Linked DNA regions of Homo sapiens: region 1 is linked to region 2. Evidence: promoter capture Hi-C in human tissues and cell types (Jung and others, 2019). All regions are on one chromosome and are shown on one strand. The core of a region is centred on a gene start or on the middle of the fragment in contact, and the rest is flanking DNA. Distances in the headings are between cores, read along the strand shown. Region 1 has its middle 14 kb from the start of NPBWR2. Region 2 holds the start of SAMD10 (sterile alpha motif domain containing 10).

The links. Contacts are between HindIII fragments. The study calls those that stand out against the background at their distance.
Region 1: a fragment that was not itself captured here is called in contact with the fragment with the promoter of SAMD10 in region 2 in 1 of the 25 tissues and cell types used here (heart right ventricle).

What each region holds. Positions count from the first base shown.
Region 1 is chr20:64,118,942-64,124,281 of GRCh38, forward strand. No RefSeq gene overlaps it. Among named protein-coding and RNA genes, the nearest start is that of NPBWR2, 14 kb to the left of the region's middle. RefSeq lists enhancers at 1,307-1,806, 1,475-1,769, 4,173-5,340. The HindIII fragment of the contact is 5,841 bases long and covers 225-5,340 here.
Region 2 is chr20:63,978,008-63,980,891 of GRCh38, forward strand. SAMD10 (sterile alpha motif domain containing 10) reads right to left here and starts at 1,635. Exons shown (of 5, transcript NM_080621.5): 1 at 1,370-1,635. The coding sequence starts at 1,460. RefSeq lists enhancers at 789-1,083, 1,069-1,584, 2,180-2,239 and a silencer at 1,430-1,749. The HindIII fragment of the contact is 26,934 bases long and covers 1-2,884 here.

The DNA.
Region 1 (5,340 bases), core at 1,895-4,394, 140 kb after region 2:
TGTGCAGGGCATGAGGGCACCCTGATGTGGCGGGGGGGCCTGGGCAAAGCTGTGCGGGGCATGAGGGCACCCTGATGTTGGGGGGGGTGTCTGGGCAAAGCTGTGCGGAGCATGAGGGCACCCTGATGTTGGGGGGGTGTCTGGGCAAAGCTGTGCGGGGCATGAGGGCACCCTGATGTGGGGGGGGGTGTCTGGGCAAAGCTGTGCGGGGCATGAGGGCACCCTGATGTGGTGGGGAGGGCCTGGGCAAAGCTGTGTGGGGCATGAGGGCACCCTGATGTCGGGAGGGGGGCAGGCCTGGGCTCAGCCAGAAGACAGCCCCAGTTCCTCCAGCATGGCTGGGCCCCATCCCACCTCACTTCCTTCCATCTCCACCTTTGCCGACTCCTGGGATCTGAGCCTCCTCCTGGTCTGTCTCTGGTTCTGAATGCCTCCTATGTGCCGGGTGCTGACAGCTAAAGATACATCCGTGTTTCATTTTGTCTCCACAATGGCCAGGGGCAGTACTACTGTCATCCCATCTAGCAGATGGGAACAGGAGGCTCTGATGGAGTTTCCCTGGAGCGTGCTTGCTAACCGTGGAGCAACAGGGCACTCAGCTTCCGCACGGAGCTTCCCAGAGCCTGTGGCTTCCTCTCAGGGCTCCGGCAGTGTTGAATGTGGGGAGCTCACACTCTCACCAGGGAGACCTCATACCTGCTGCTTATCACCTGGGAGATGTTTTCTGCCCACAGAGGCTCCGTCACATCTCTGGCTGCTCGGGGAGGTGAGTGGGGCCCTGCTCACTCAGGACAAAGGAGGCTGAGGTGGAGCTCTAGGCCCCTCTTCCCCACCCACTTGAGTGCACCCCGAAGGCACGTGGAGTTCCTGGGGTGCTGCCTGTGGTCGGGCCAGAGACTGCTCCACTGTCCAAACTGTGCTCATAGGTATGTGGCCTGGGGACTGTTGCCGTGGAACCGGGTAAAGAGCCCTGTGGACCTGTGCTCCCAACTCAGGCCAGTCAAGGGTGCCACTGTGGCCTAGATAGTCTCCTGAGGGGAGCAGACCAGGTGGAGGTCAGGAGTACAGGTCTGGGACTGGCTTTTTCCTTGCTGTGTGGCCCAGGGTGAGTTACCCAACCTCTCTGAGCCTCTGTCTCCTCACTTGTCAAATGGGGATCGTAATTTTCCTGCCTCAGGCTGGAGGCTTGCACGTGTTGGGCCAGCCCCATCTGAGGTCCCACCTGCCCGTGCTGCTCTGGACCTGGTCTGGGGTTTCGGCCTTGGGCCTGGGCAGCTCAGGTGGATGCTTGGAGGGAGCACTGACCTCAAGTCAGCTGTGAGTAGGACGGGAGGCTGGTGAGCGGCAGCAAGCTGCAAGCCACAGGCAGGGAGAACTTCCCGGAGGTAGAGAGAGAGAGAGAGAGAGAGAGAGAGAGAGTGTGTGTGTGTGTGTGTGTGTGTGTGTGTGTGTGTGCGCCCTTCTTAGCCTGGGCAAAGAATTGGGAGACCAGCAGGCCAGCGCTGGCTCTGCCATGGAGGGGAAGCACTTTGAAGCCCCACTGTTCCTGGACTAGCTCTGCTGAACCACAGAGGGGCCGCCGTTTTCCCTTGGCTGGGGTAGAGGAACAGGGTCCTTCCTGTGGCTCCTGGCTGAGCCAGGTTCTGTGCGACGCGGACCAACCCTGACCCCCAGTGGCCAGTTCCGAGAACTGCTGCAGAGGAAAAGGGACCATTCAGTAGGGTGGGGGTGGGGGCTTGCGCGGCATTCATTTTCGAGTGGACATGGGGGCAGGCAGGCCAGTCTCTGATGATTTAAGGATGCTGTGGTTTGAATATTTGTCACCTCCAAAACTCAAGTTGGAATTTAATCCCCAATGTGGCAGTATTGAGAGGTGGGGCCTTTAAGAGGTGATTGGGTCACAAGAGCTCTGCCCTCATGAATAGATTAATTTATTTATAGATTAATGGGTTATCATAGGAGTGGGGCTAGTAGCTTTATAAGAAGAGAGAGACCTGAGCCAGCACGCTCAGCCCCTCACCATGCGACGCCCTGCACTGCCTTGGGACTCTGGGGTTCCCACCAGCAAGAAAACCTCACCAGATGTGGCCCATTGACCTTGGACTTCCCAGCCCGCAGAACTGTAAGAAATACATTTTGTTTCTTTTAAATTACCCAGTTTCTGTTATAAGCAGCAGGAAACAGACTAAGACAAGGGGCAAGCCAGCCTCTGCCCACAAGGAGCTCCATTCTGGTGTGGAGAGACCCAAACACACAACTATGCTCTTTGTCTTGCTAGAGACTTGTTTTGTGGTGGCCCCAACCTCAACTTGCCAGCAATTTGTAAAAGAACCAAGTCAATTTTACACAGCAAATTAAACCCCAGGGTAAATGTGTGTACCTGGATTCCAATAGTAGGTAAAGATTCTTAATGGTGAAAACTATGACTCCTGTTAAAACTCTTGTGTTCTGTTCTTACCACTGAGTTTAAACAACAACTCTGTGCTAATCGTATAAAGAATATTTTTGTCTGGACTGTCTACGGCCAAGTTCTCCACCCTGGATGTGCACAGAATCCCCTGGGGACTTCAGGAGCTCACTGGAGCTGGTTCCACCCCCATGCCCAGGCTCTGATGTGCTTGGTCTGGGCTGGGGCCTGGGCACCAGTGTTGTCCTAGTTTTGTGTTGCTATGAAGGAATATCTGAGGCTGGGTAATTTCTTTTTCTTTTTCCTAGGTGAGGAGAAGGATAGAGGCTGGGCCATTATAAAGAAAAGAGGTTTGTTTGGCTCACGGTTCTGCAGGGTGTACGGGAAGCACGGTGCCGGCACCTGCTTCTGGGGAGGCCTCAGGGAGCGTGCACTCATGGCGGGAGGTGTCTCATGGTAAGAGAAGAGGCGAGAGAGAGGGGCGATGCCAGGATTTTTTTAAAACAACCAGCTCGTGTGGGAACTAATAGAGCAAGAACTCACTCATCACCATGAGGAGGGCACTAAACCATTCATTCTGGATCCTTCCCTATGACCCGAACACCTCCCACCAGGCCCCGCCTCCAACATCGGGGATTAAATTTCAACATGAGGTTCGGGGACAAACGTCCAAACTATAGCAGGTATTTCTGAAGAACACCCAGGTGTTTCAAAGCTGGGGTGAAGCCGTGGGTTAACACTGTTTTTCAGACATGGCTGGAGACCTGGGGTTCCTACACCACAGAGTCTCCCTGCCAGAGTTCTCAGCTCCTGGGGAGGCTGAGGTGGGTGGATCACTTGAGGTCAGGAGTTTGAGATCAGCCTGGCCAACATGGTGAAACCCCGTCTCTACTAAAAATACAAAAAATGTAGCCAGGCGTGGTGGCACACACCTGTAATTCCAGCTACTCAGGAGGCTGAGGCACGAGAATCACTTGATCCTGGGAGGCGGAGGTTGCAGTGAGCTGAGATCTCACTACTGCACTCCAGCCTGGGTGACGGAGTGAGACACTGTCAAAAAAAAAAAAAAAAAGAAAGAAGAAAGAGAAGTATCATGATAAAAGAAATAATATTTTAAAAAAAGACAGTGTGGTATTTGCATCAAGATAGACAGATCAATAGAACAAATTAGAGATACCAGAAATAGACCCACAAATATGAGCAAGTGATTTTCAACAAAGCTGCAAAGGCAATTCAATAAAGGCAAGTTTTGTTCTCAGTAAATGATGCTAAACAGTTGGATATCCATATGCAAAAAAATGAACTTTGATCCATACCTTGTACTATATTAAAATATTGTCAATATGGATCATAAACCTAAATGTAAAAGCTAAAATTATAAAACTTCTATAAGAGGACATAGAAGAAAACCTTTGCAAACTTAGATCAGGCAAAACATTATTAGATAGGATATCAAAACATAATCCATCAAATAAATAAGATGTTTCATCAAAACTAAGAACTTCTGCTATTCCAAAGACACTGCTAAGAAAATGAAAAGACAAGCCCAAGGCTGTAAGACAATTTTTGCAAATCACATATTTGATAAAGGACTTGTATCCAGAGTATATCAAGAACTCTCAAAACTCAATAACGTTAATGGAAAAAAACAGATTCTGTAAAATATTTTAAAGAGGTTTATTCTGAGTCAATATGAATGACCATGGCCTGGAGAAAACAGTTTCGAGAGGTTCTGAGAAAGCCTGGAGAACACAGTTTCGAGTTTCCTGAGAAAGCCTGGAGAACAGTTTCGAGAGGTCCTGAGAAAGCCTGGAGAACACAGTTTTGAGTTTCCTTAGAAAGCCTGGAGAACACAGTTTCGAGAGGTGCTGAGAAAGCCTGGAGAACACGGTTTCGAGAGCTCCTGGGAAAGCCTGGAGAACACGGTTTCGAGAGGTCCTGAGAAAGCCTGGAGAACACGATTTCGAGAGGTCCTGAGAAAGCCTGGAGAACACGGTTTCGAGAGGTCCTGAGAAAGCCTGGAGAACATGGTTTCGAGAGGTCCTGGGAAAGCCTGGAGAACACAGTTTCGAGTTTCCTGAGAAAGCCTGGAGAACAGTTTCGAGAGGTCCTGAGAAAGCCTGGAGAACACAGTTTCGAGAGGTCCTGGGAAAGCCTGGAGAACACGGTTTCGAGAGGTCCTGAGAAAGCCTGGAGAACACAGTTTTGAGTTTCCTGAGAAAGCCTGGAGAACACAGTTTCGAGAGGTCCTGGGAAAGCCTGGAGAACACGGTTTCGAGAGGTCCTGAGAAAGCCTGGAGAACACGGTTTTGAGAGGTCCTGAGAAAGCCTGGAGAACATGGTTTCGAGAGGTTCTGGGAAAGCCTGGAGAACACAGTTTCAAGTTTCCTGAGAAAGCCTGGAGAACAGTTTCGAGAGGTCCTGAGAAAGCCTGGAGAACACAGTTTCGAGAGGTCCTGAGAAAGCCTGGAGAACACAGTTTCGAGTTTCCTGGGAAAGCCTGGAGAACATAGTTTCGAGAGGTCCTGAGAAAGCCTGGAGAACACAGTTTCGAGAGGTCCTGGGAAAGCCTGGAGAACACAGTTTCAAGAGGTCCTGGGAAAGCCTGGAGAACACAGTTTCGAGTTTCCTGAGAAAGCCTGGAGAACATGGTTTCGAGTTTCCTGAGAAAGCCTGGAGAACACAGTTTCGAGAGGTCCTGGGAAAGCCTGGAGAACATAGTTTCGAGAGGTCCTGGGAAAGCCTGGAGAACACAGTTTCGAGAGGTCCTGGGAAAGCCTGGAGAACACAGTTTCAAGAGGTCCTGGGAAAGCCTGGAGAACACAGTTTCGAGTTTCCTGAGAAAGCCTGGAGAACACAGTTTCGAGAGGTCCTGGGAAAGCCTGGAGAACACAGTTTTGAGTTTCCTGAGAAAGCCTGGAGAACATAGTTTC
Region 2 (2,884 bases), core at 385-2,884:
CCGCAAACACGCGCTGGGCTCTCCAGCTGTGCCGCCCCCCACAGGGCCTGCAGCCCGGGACAACACCGGCCATGTGAATGGTGGGTACCCATTGGATATGGGCGGGTCAGCACAGGTATGTGGGGTGCAGCCATTGCTTGGGGACCCACGGTGATGCTCTGTGCTCCCTCTTCCCACAGTAACTGCATTAAAGTGTTTCATCTGAGCTTTGTCATCATCTCTGGGGGCACTGCTGACCTGAGTCTGGGGAGGCAGGCGTCTTGATCCAGGTCTGGTTACAGAGGGGCACCCCACATTCATTGTCAATGAATGAATGAATGAAGGCTCTGTATGGTATCTGCAAGTGAACAGAGCCTGTGGGGAGACAGAAGGTGGGCACAGGCCTGCCCCTGTCTTTACAGCACCCTAGCACCCAGGCCTTCAGCAGGGCAGGTGAGGTTCCCACGCTAGGGCCCTCATCCCATCCACCCTAGAGTGAGAGACCCTCCCGGCCTCAGACTCAGCCACCCACTCCACACCCAGGGCAGGGGTTGGGGATGTGTCTAGGAGGTCTAAGTATCGGTGAAAACCACATCCTACTTCCCCGTCCTCCCACGCCTGTAAGACTTAGGAGACATAACACCTTCCGCCCCCATTCTTGCAACTTTCAGGAACCGGACCCCTGGGTGACTCCAAATTTGAGGTCTGGGGTCAGCAGAGGGTGTGCTCAGTGGGCCACCGCCCCGAGGTGGCCCCTAGTGCTGTGGGAAAAGGCTTATTCTAAGCCCGCGCCTTCCAGCGGACAGGCGCCGTGGTCGCCGGGCTTTGCAGGGCCTCGAGCGGCGGGGCTGGTGCAGAAGCGCGCGGCAGTCCGGGGAAACCCGTCGGACTCCTCAGCCCGCACGGCACCTGCCCCGGCCAAGCAGGCTCCGCCCATTTCCTGCCTGCACTCCCGGAGGGAGTTCCGTCCGTCCCGCGGTCTGTCGGTCCGGTCCCTCCCGCCCCAACGTCAGGATTCCAGAAGGAAATGGGGCGGGGGCACCGAGGCGGGATGTGACCTCGGCCCCCTTTCGGCCCCACTGCAAAAGCGGGGGAGGGTTTTCCCCGTGCGCAGGAAAAGGTGACCCGAGCGTAGTGCCAGCCTGGACACAGGCGCCCCGGCTTGACACCCCCTCACCCCAAGCCAAGGGCGCGCTGACCCCCAAGGCCTGAGGCTGGCTGCCCCCTAAAGCAGGACAAAGGCTACGGGACCCCGTTGAGCCGAGACATCCGCCGAATACCCCCAGCCACCGCCGCTCGAAGCCCGCCGGGTCCCGCCCCGCCCCCGTGCCTCTGGGTCCCTGAGACCCCCGCCCGAGAAATCCCCGCTCCCCAATCCAGCCCCGCTCACCGTCCACATCCCGGCGCTCCCCGAAGCCCGCGCGCACGGCCCCGGCGCGGCCACGCGGGGGGCTCAGCTTGGACCTCAGCTCGGTGAACATGGGGCCCGCGGGTGCCAGGCCCGCGCACACGCCCCTCGCCGAGTGCAGGGCGGCCGGTGTGGCCGGCGGGGAACGCGCGCCGCCGCCCCGCCCCGCCCCAGCCGGCCCCGCGCCCGAGCCGGTCCCCGCGGCCCGCGAGTGTGCGCGACGAGGCACCTGCCGCCGAGCCCTGTGTGCCGGGCGCGCTCCGGGAGCTCCGAGGTGTGTCGGCGGCGCGCGGGCCTGCGTGCACCAAGGCTGTCCGCCAGGGCGAGGGGCGTCCGTGCGCCCCTGGGCACGGCTCCGCGGAGGAGAGTCCCCGTGAACCTGCCGGGCGTCCTCTGAGGTCGGGCCCCTCTGTGCGTGGGGGTGGGCTGAGGGGCATCTCACAGGGGTCTTCTACCTACCGGGGCCAGGACAAGGGGCAGGTCAACGCCTCCCACACACTTTCCTCGGTCTCCTACGTCTTTACTCGCCTTCAAATAGGCACCCGCTTCCCCGGAGAAACCAGCTTGACTCTTGCTTACCGCCCACCCCACTGTGAACATCAGGGTGGTTCTCCCTTCCCTCTGCAGCCCCAGAACCTGGCTCAGTGCCCGGGGGAGAGGGGGCGGTACAGTGCTCTGTAACTGAAAGGGGCTTGGCTTGCCTGGAGATGGGGCAGAGGGGAACTCCAAGGAGGCTGTAGCAGGCCGGAGCGGTGTGTTTGCTCCAGGACTCCAGTGAGAAGTGCTGAGATGGGGCTGGGCTAGGGAACTGTGGTTGCCTGGTGCAGCAGCAGGCCAGGCTTGCAACCAGCTATTCGGCTTGCTCTGCCCAGGAGCCTGGGTGCTCTCCCTGGGTGTATGTAGGGGCTCTGGAGGATGTCTTACAGCAGGAGGACCAGAGATGCACACAGACATGTAGAAATGCATGCACAGAGTACAGTCATGCACTTGCACCCAAAACACGAGCACACGTGACCTCTGTGCACACACCCCACTAATCACACACACAGAATTCACCCACATGCTTGACAGCCATGTTCATGTACTGACGTGTTCCCGACAGCTCAGCTGCGGTTATTTATTTCGTCAATTAGCTCTCCAGGAGCTAAGGATGTGGCCCTCACCAGAATGTCCAAGGCATGTTGGCGGGCGTGGGTGGGGTCTCTAGTCCCACTGGAGGGACAGATGCCTGAATGGGGGTTCAAGAATATGAGTGCTAAAAGCGTAGGGCAGCAGTGTGCGCACAGGACGCACACAGACAGGTGTGCCCATAACCAGTACACACAAGCTCTACACAACTGGACAGGGTACAGCTCTGCTCGGACAGGGCGCACCAGGGGCGAGGGCGGGCAGCTGGGCTGGTTCAGAGGGAGGGGGCCATGGGTTCAGAGGGAGGGGACCATGGGTCCCACTCTCACAGACAGGTCTCCGGACTGCATCAGAGCACTCGGGAAGCAG